3 separate regions of the Homo sapiens genome follow, and regions 2 and 3 are each linked to region 1. The links are contacts of gene promoters, found by promoter capture Hi-C in human tissues and cell types (Jung and others, 2019). All regions are on one chromosome and are shown on one strand. The core of a region is centred on a gene start or on the middle of the fragment in contact, and the rest is flanking DNA. Distances in the headings are between cores, read along the strand shown.

What was found. The method cuts DNA at HindIII sites, captures the fragments that hold promoters and counts their contacts. A contact is called where the count stands out against the background at its distance.
Region 2: a contact is called between a fragment that was not itself captured here and the fragment with the promoter of MECOM in region 1, in 1 of the 25 tissues and cell types used here (H1 embryonic stem cells).
Region 3: a fragment that was not itself captured here is called in contact with the fragment with the promoter of MECOM in region 1 in 1 of the 25 tissues and cell types used here (dorsolateral prefrontal cortex).

The regions. Positions count from the first base shown.
Region 1 is chr3:169,662,393-169,665,063 of GRCh38, reverse strand. MECOM (MDS1 and EVI1 complex locus) reads left to right here and starts at 1,352. Exons shown (of 17, transcript NM_004991.4): 1 at 1,352-1,728. The coding sequence starts at 1,692. RefSeq lists a silencer at 2,361-2,460. The HindIII fragment of the contact is 10,305 bases long and covers 1-2,671 here.
Region 2 is chr3:168,930,878-168,933,548 of GRCh38, reverse strand. No RefSeq gene overlaps it. Among named protein-coding and RNA genes, the nearest start is that of LINC02082, 30 kb to the right of the region's middle. The HindIII fragment of the contact is 5,448 bases long and covers 1-2,671 here.
Region 3 is chr3:169,004,357-169,007,027 of GRCh38, reverse strand. LINC01997 (long intergenic non-protein coding RNA 1997) reads right to left here. Exons shown (of 3, transcript XR_924689.3): 2 at 1,750-1,869; 3 at 85-1,033. Among named protein-coding and RNA genes, the nearest start is that of LINC01997, 2.7 kb to the right of the region's middle. The HindIII fragment of the contact is 4,556 bases long and covers 1-2,671 here.

The DNA of each region.
Region 1 (2,671 bases), core at 103-2,602:
AGCTCTGGATAAAGGAAAATGGTAGGCATCCTTAACAAGGACAAATTCTTTGAACTTTGATTCTCTTGAATAAAGAGATTTGCAGGCCATTGATACCCTTTGGGGTTGAACCTTGTTATTTGCTCTCTCATGTCTGCAGTCCTAGATTTGATAATAAATACCAACAGGTACGACTGGGCATTCTCAATGATTCCCCTTTCCCTCCACAGCCTTTGCCAAACTCATGCCCAGGACCTGCTTTTCTTTTCCTTTAACTTGAACATCAAGGATGTATTGTTGCAGCACGGAGACTGAAAAGATTGTAATTTTCTTTTATGGTGTCTGGCAGGATTTGCAACAGATATTAATGGGGACATAAATAGCACATGGAAGGTATTGAACAAAACTGTTTAATGCAAGAAGGTTGTACCAAAAGAAAATCTATACCTAGTTGGGATTGATTCATACCTTGTACACAGCTAGCCCCTTTAGGAATTCCCATTTCTGAGTGGCACTTCATTGGTAAATCCTGTAATTAAAGGAAATTTCAACAATGTATTTTTTTAAGAGTGTGTGATTTTCCTCCCTACTCCTCTTTCTTTTGACCCCGAGGTTGTAGGTTTAAGCGAGTGAGTGAAAATGGCAGGCAAGCAGAGCTGCATCGGGAGGCGACCGGGGCAGCAGTGGGGGAGGCCGGAAGGTGACAGCCGACCTCTGAGAAAGCAGGAGGTCTTTGGATGTCAAATGCCAGCGCCGGCCCGGACCCGGGAATCAAGGGTGATCATTACTACTTGGTAGGGAAAGAATACTGAAATGTCCCAAGGATGGCAGCAAGCATTGGTATTACAGCTAAAATCGAGGAAAAAACCAGTTATTTATTCTGCTTACAACCCTGAAAGCGGAAGCTGCAATAGCTTCAGTAGCAGTAGCAGCGGCAGCAGTAGATTTCTCAAGTTCAGGATGATTCTCACTTTCTCCTGGATTATTAGCCGAGGGTCCAGCCCTTCTAGTTCTTTAACAGGAGAAGGGTTTTTAAAAAATGTTTTTAAAGTTTTTTTCCCCCCTGGCTTCTTGCTTCCCTCGTAGATGGTATAGAAAAATGTCTGCAATTTATGGTGGGAAAAACAATAACAATAATCATGATACAAGCTTGTTGGCGATTCTAACATGGAATCAATCCTCTGCCCAAGCCTTTTCAATTCCCCCCTCCCCTTTTTTTGGGCGAGGTGTCTGCTCCCCTCTGGCTCCCTGCGTTCGCTCCCCGCCCCCCGCCGCCCTCCCCGCGGCTCCCTTTCTCCGCCTCCTCGGCGATTGCCATCTGACAAGATCTCCAAATCAAAGTGATAAATCGCTCCAAACTTTTTTTGGCGGCGCTGAGATGTTGGAGGGGCGTCTAGCGCGCATGTGCGAAGGTGTCCAAACTGACAATGCTGGAGAGATAGCGAGTGTGGATTGAGAGAAAGGGAGAGAGGGAGGGAGAGAGAGTGAAAGAAGAAAATACAGAGAGTGAGTGTGTGGAAGAGAGAGAGAAACAGGAGAGAAACAGGAGGGAGGGAGAGAGAGAGAGAGAGAGAGAGAGAGAGAGAGAGAGAGAGAGAGAGAGAGAGAGACAGGAGAGAGAGGGAGGGAGCGAGAGGGAGAGCAAAAGAAGGAAAGGATCCAAGAAAAAAAAGCCCCAACCACACACCAGCGGCTGCAGGACTGGGCACAGCATGAGATCCAAAGGCAGGGCAAGGAAACTGGCCACAAGTAGGTGCAATATCCCTTTTCTATTGGCTTTTCCCCCTCCTCTGCCATCTTGCATATCTGTCTCTAGCGCTCCGGGAGGGAGCGCGGGCTGCCTCTTGCGCCGGGGCCCCGGGTGGAGGGCAGGCGGAGCGCAGCCCCAGCAACCTGCCGGTTCCAGTCTCTGCTCCCGGTCGCCCGCGCTCTCGCTCCCGGGTTGGGCGCCGGAGGAGCCTGGGCAGCCCTCAGTCCCGCGCACCGACCAGCTGTGGCAACCCCGGGGTGGGGGTGGGGGTGGGGGCAGCAAAGACTAGGGGTGGGAGGGAGGAGAGAGCGCGAGAGTGAGCGCGAAGGGGTGGGGTGGGGGGGAAGAGAAGAGGAGAAAGTCTCCCCCTCCCCTCCCCTTCCCCCCAGGCGGGGGAGAGTTGCCTCTGGCCAACCAGCTAGTCCCGGGTGTGGGAGGAGGGGGGCGCGGGGGATGGGGGGCCGGCAGGAGAAGGGAGCCTTTTCGAGCCTCGGTTTGTTTCTGGGGTTTGGGTAGGGTAGGCGGCTCAGAGGGAGCCACAGTGGCGGCGGCGGCGGGCGGCTGTGGTGGACTTGGGAAAAGTTGCGAGGCGGCCGCTGGAAGTTGCGCGGGCGGGCGGGTGGACTGCGCCGAGCCGCGGCTGCGGTAGTGGGCGCTGTGCGCTCGGCCATGCTCTCCGGCGCGGCGCTGCGCGGCGGGAGGACTGCGGCGGGGAGTAGGGGACACCAAGGTGGGGGCTGTGATCGCGGGGTGGGGGCGGGGGCACGGGCAGAGCAGAGCTACCGGCTCCGCACAGCCACGCGCAGGTGGGGAGGAAAGAGGCCCAGCGAGCGCTCGGACGTGGGGAGAGAAGAGGCCCAGCGAGCGCTCGGAGAGCCGGGAGTGGAGGGCACACAGCCAGCGGCGGCAGCCTAGGAGCAGGAGGCAGAGAGGGCGCGCTGC
Region 2 (2,671 bases), core at 44-2,543, 730 kb after region 1:
GGCTCTGTGTTCCCACCCAAATCTCATGTTGAATTGTACTCCCATAATTCCCATGTGTTGTGGAAGGGACCTGGTGGGAGATAATTTGAATCATGGGGGTGGTTCCCCCATACTGTTCTTGTGGTAGTGAATAAGTCTCACGAGATCTGATGGTTTTATCAGGGCTTTCTGCTTTTGTGTCTTCCTCATTTTCTCTTGCTGCTCCCATGTAAGAAGTTCCTTTCACCTCCCTCTATCAGGTCTCTGAGCCCAAGCCTGCACATATATCCAGATGGCCTGAAGCAACTGAAGAATCACAAAAGAAGTGAAAATGGCCAGTTCCTGCCTTAATTGATGACATTACCTTGTGAAATTCCTTCTCCTGGCTCAGAAGCTCCCCACTGAGCACCTTGTGACCCCTGCCCCTGCTTGCAAGACAACAACCCTCTTTGACTGTAATTTTCCACTACCTACCCAAATCCTATAAAACTGTCCCACCCCTAACTCCCTTTGCTGACTCTTTTTGGACTCAGCCCACCTGCACCCAGGTGATTAAAAAGCTTTATTGCTCACACAAATCCTGTTGGTGGTCTCTTCACACAGATGCACATGACATTTGGTCCTGAAACAAATTTGCCCCTGCCCCGGGCTGGCAAATTGACTTTACTCAAAAGCCCTGAGTCAGGAAACTAAAATACCTCTTGGTCTGGAAAGACACTTTCACTGGATATGTAGAGGCTTTTCCCACAAGGCCTGAGAGGGCCGCTGCAGTCATTTCTTCCCTTCTGTTAGACATAATTCACTTTCTTGCTCAGCCCCAACCTCTTCCCAGACACCAGCCCTCTAGGCGACTATCTTCCAGTCCTCCAGCAGGCTAGATAGGAAATTCGCTAGGTTGCTAATCTTCTCTTGCCTACTCCAGATTCCCAGCCATATAAAGACACGCTAGTGGGAATCAGTTCTTGTTAAGAATCCGATCCCTCAAACTCTACAACCTCATTGGACCAGACCCTACTTAGTCATCTATAATACCCCAACTGCCTCCACCTGCAGGACCCTCCCCACTGGGTTTACCATTCCAGAATAAAGCTGTGTCCATCAGACAGCCAGCTTGATCTCTCCTCTTCCTCCTAGAAGTCGCAAGTACTTATCCCTACTTCCCTTAAAGTCACCCACATTTCTAAAGAACAGTAGTGACCCTTATGAGCCTAATACATCCTTTCATTTTGTTAGGTCTATTCATCCTTACCCTACTCTTTGCAATAGTGCTTTATGCAGTCACCCCTACTACTTAAACTGCATCCTAAAAACTTTTCATCCTTGCTGTCTTCTGTCTAGTCATACTCTTATTCTTCGTTCTCACTTATCCATGAGTGCCCACCCTTGTCTACACTACTGGCTTATATTTTTTCTCCAAACCATCATAGCTGGTCCTGGTCTTATCCCCTAACCACCACTCTTAACTCCCTCTTACAGTGGATAAATGACCTTTGCTGAAAAAACACACTCCAATTCTTTCCCCTACTTTACATTTCTAGTTTTGCCTTACACAAGGTCTCTTCTTCCTCTGTGGCTCCTCTACCTACATGTGTCTACCTGTTAATTAGACAGGCACATGTACACTAGTTTTCCTTACCCCTAAAAATCAGTTTGCAAATATTACCGAACAGCTTCCTGTTCCCCTCATGACACCAATACTTCACCACTATCTTGTTTTGTTTTTCTTATTATTAATACAATAAGACGGGAATAGGTCTTGACTTACTGCTGAAAAAGGAGGACTCTGTATATTTTTAAATGAAAAGTGTTGTTTTTACCTAAATCAATCTGGCATGGTACATGGCAACATAAAAAAAAACTCAAAGATAGGGCCCAAAAACTCACCAACCAAGCAAATAATCATGCTGAACCTCCTTGGGCACTCTCTAATTGGATGTCCTGGGTCCTCCCAACTCTTAGTCCTCTAATACCTGTTTTTCTCCTTCTCTTATTCAGTCCTTGTGTCTTCCGTTTAGTTTCTCAATTCATACAAAACCGTATCGAGGCCATCACCTATCATTCTACACAACAAATGCTCTTTCTAACAACCCCACAATATCACCCCTTACCACAAAATCTTTCTTCAGCTTAATCTCTCCCACTCTAGGTTCCCATACCGCCCCTAATCCCACTCAAAGCAGCCCTGAGAAACATCGCCCATTATCTCTTCATACCACCTCCAAAAATTTTCACCACCCTAACACTTCACCACTATCTGGTTTTGCTTTTCTTATTAATATAAGACAGGAATGTCAGGCCTTTGAGCCCAAGCCTGCACGTATACATCCAGATGGCCTGAAGCAACTGAAGAATCACAAAAGAAGTGAAAATGGCCGATTCCTGCCTTAACTGATGATATTACCTTGTGAAATTCCTTCTCCTGGCTCAGAAGCTCCCCGACTAAGCACCTTGTGACCCCCACCCCTGCCTACAGGAGAACAACTCCCTTTGACTGTAATTTTCCACTACCTACCCAAATCCTATAAAACTGCCCCACCCCTAACTCCCTTTGCTGACTCTCCTTTCAGACTCACCTGCACCCAGGTGATTAAAAAGCTTTATTACTCACACAAAGCCTGTTGGTGGTCTCTTCACACGGATGCGCAAGACACCCACCATGATTCTGAGGCCTCCCAGCCATGTGGAACTGTAA
Region 3 (2,671 bases), core at 128-2,627, 660 kb after region 1:
GTGCCATAGGGAACACTCCAATAAACCATTGAGGCTCAGATGTAATTAGTGGCTCATTGTCTCTGACACCCTTCCATCCAGGAATTTCTTCTTTTTTTTTTTTTTAATTATACTTTAAGTTTTAGGGCACATGTGCACAACATGCAGGTTAGTTACATATGTATACATGTGCCATGTTGGTGTGCTGCACCCATTAACTTGTCATTTAACATTAGGTATATCTCCTAATGCTATCCCTCCCCCCTCCCCCCACCCCACAACAGGCCCCGGTGTGTGATGTTCCCCTTCCTGTGTCCATGTGTTCTCATTGTTCAATTCCCACCTATGAATGAGAACATGCGGTATTTGGTTTTTTTGTCCTTGCGATAGTTTGCTGAGAATGATGGTTTCCAGCTTCATCCATGTCCCTACAAAGGGCATGAACTCATCATTTTTTATGGCTGCATAGTATTCCATGGTGTATATGTGCCACATTTTCTTAATCCAGTCTATCATTGTTGGACAGTTGGGTTGGTTCCAAGTCTTTGCTATTGTGAATAGTGCCGCAATAAACATACGTGTGCATGTGTCTTTTTTGAAAAGATCAACAAAATTGATAGACCACTAGCAAGACTAATAAAGAAGAAAAGAGAGAAGAATCAAATAGAAGCAATAAAAAATGATAAAGGGGATATCACCACCGATCCCACAGAAATACAAACTACCATCAGAGAATAGTATAAACACCTCTATGCAAATAAACTAGAAAATCTAGAAGAAATGGATAAATTCCTTGACACATCCACCCTCCCAAGACTAAACCAGGAAGAAGTTGAAGGTCTGAATAGACCAATAACAGGCTCTGAAATTGAGGCAATAATTAATAGCTTACCAACCAAAAAAAGTCCAGGACCAGATGGATTCATAGCCGAATTCTACGGGAGGTACAAGGAGGAACTGGTACCATTCCTTCTGAAACTATTCCAATCAATAGAAAAAGAGGGAATCCTCCCTAACTCATTTTATGAGGCCAGCATCATCCTGATACCAAAGCCTGGCAGAGACACAACAAAAAAAAGGAATTTTAGACAAATATCCCTGATGAACATCGATGCAAAAATCCTCAATAAAATATTGGCAAACCAAATCCAGCAGCACATCAAAAAGCTTATTCACCATGATCAAGTGGGCTTCATCCCTGGGATGCGAGGCTGGTTCAACATACGTAAATCAATAAATATAACCCAGCATATAAACAGAACCAAGGACAAAAACCACATGATTATCTCAATAGATGCAGAAAAGGCCTTTGACAAAATTCAACAGCCCTTCATGCTAAAAACTCTCAATAAATTAGGTATTGATGGGATGTATCTCAAAATAATAAGAGCTATCTATGACAAACCCAGGAATTTCAATAAATGGAAATAACTAATCATGATATATTTGGCATTATGACCTACATTCATAAACAAGCAAAGGGACTTTTACAATTATATATTTAAATTACAGGTTATATGTTTCAAACTAGAGCTAATGTAAAATAGCAATTGTTACATAGAAATCAAAAAAGAAGATTCTGTAAAGTGATTCTGAAAACTCTATTGTATAACATAGTGAGTCTTGTGACTTTTGTGAAATAAATATTATAAAATAGGTAGAATTTAAATATCTGACATTACAAATTATTTGTAATTCTGGTTCAATATCAGCATATATATATAGTTATTTTGTTTGTTTTTATAGGGAAAATAAAGTAGAATTTTATACTTCTAGGAGGGAAAGATTCTTTAGCAAGTCAAATACTTTGGACCGTCAACCAATGGTGCCAGGGGTTTTGGGAGATCCATGACATAGAACATCCAGTCCTTGCTTGTAGATGTGTATAACCTGGTAAGGGAGAAAATAATGAAACATTTGAACTATCAAGAAAGCAGTTAAAAAATAAAAATAATTCATGTCTTGTAAAAATGTTCACTAATGCCAACATGGTTTTAACAAATCTAAAGTAATTTTGCCATGATTTGTTTTACTTGCCTAATTATAGACACAGGCTGCACCAGAGTATCCTGAGCCCAGGGAGTATTTCATTTGATAATTATTTTCTAATATTTATTTTTTCTCTTGAGTCTAAGAAGTAATCCCATACTAGGAGCAGTGGCACCTTCGAAGACTTCCTATTGAGATTTCAGAAGAAATTCTTTAGAATATTTTTTGTGCACCTGGTTCTAGGGATCCTCAGCTCCTCTCTCAGAACCCTTGTGCTCATTCTGAGCAAAAGTCAAATATATCTATTTCAAACTTTTTATTCGGGTTTGTTCTGTCTGTGTCATTTTTTTTAGAGTTGTTGCTGTGATACTATGGTTTTAAAAGATCTGAAAAGAATACCTGTCTGACTTATACCTTGCCACAATCTCCTTAAACTTTGGGGTTGGCCTATAAATGAAAGAAAAGGAAACGGAGAAACAAGAGAAGCAAGCAAGGATGAATAGGAAAAGGGCTTTGGAAGGGTGAAAAAGTCGATGTTTTTGTTTTTGTTTTGTTTTCAGGTGGAGGAAGGAGAAGAGAAATAATCTACTATTTTGCCTAGATCACATGAGTCATGAACTTGTGGTGGAGGTGAAAATAAACTCCTGGCCCTCCATCAATACTCTAACCACGAGACTGCCATTTCCTGCTTAGTTTTCAGAAA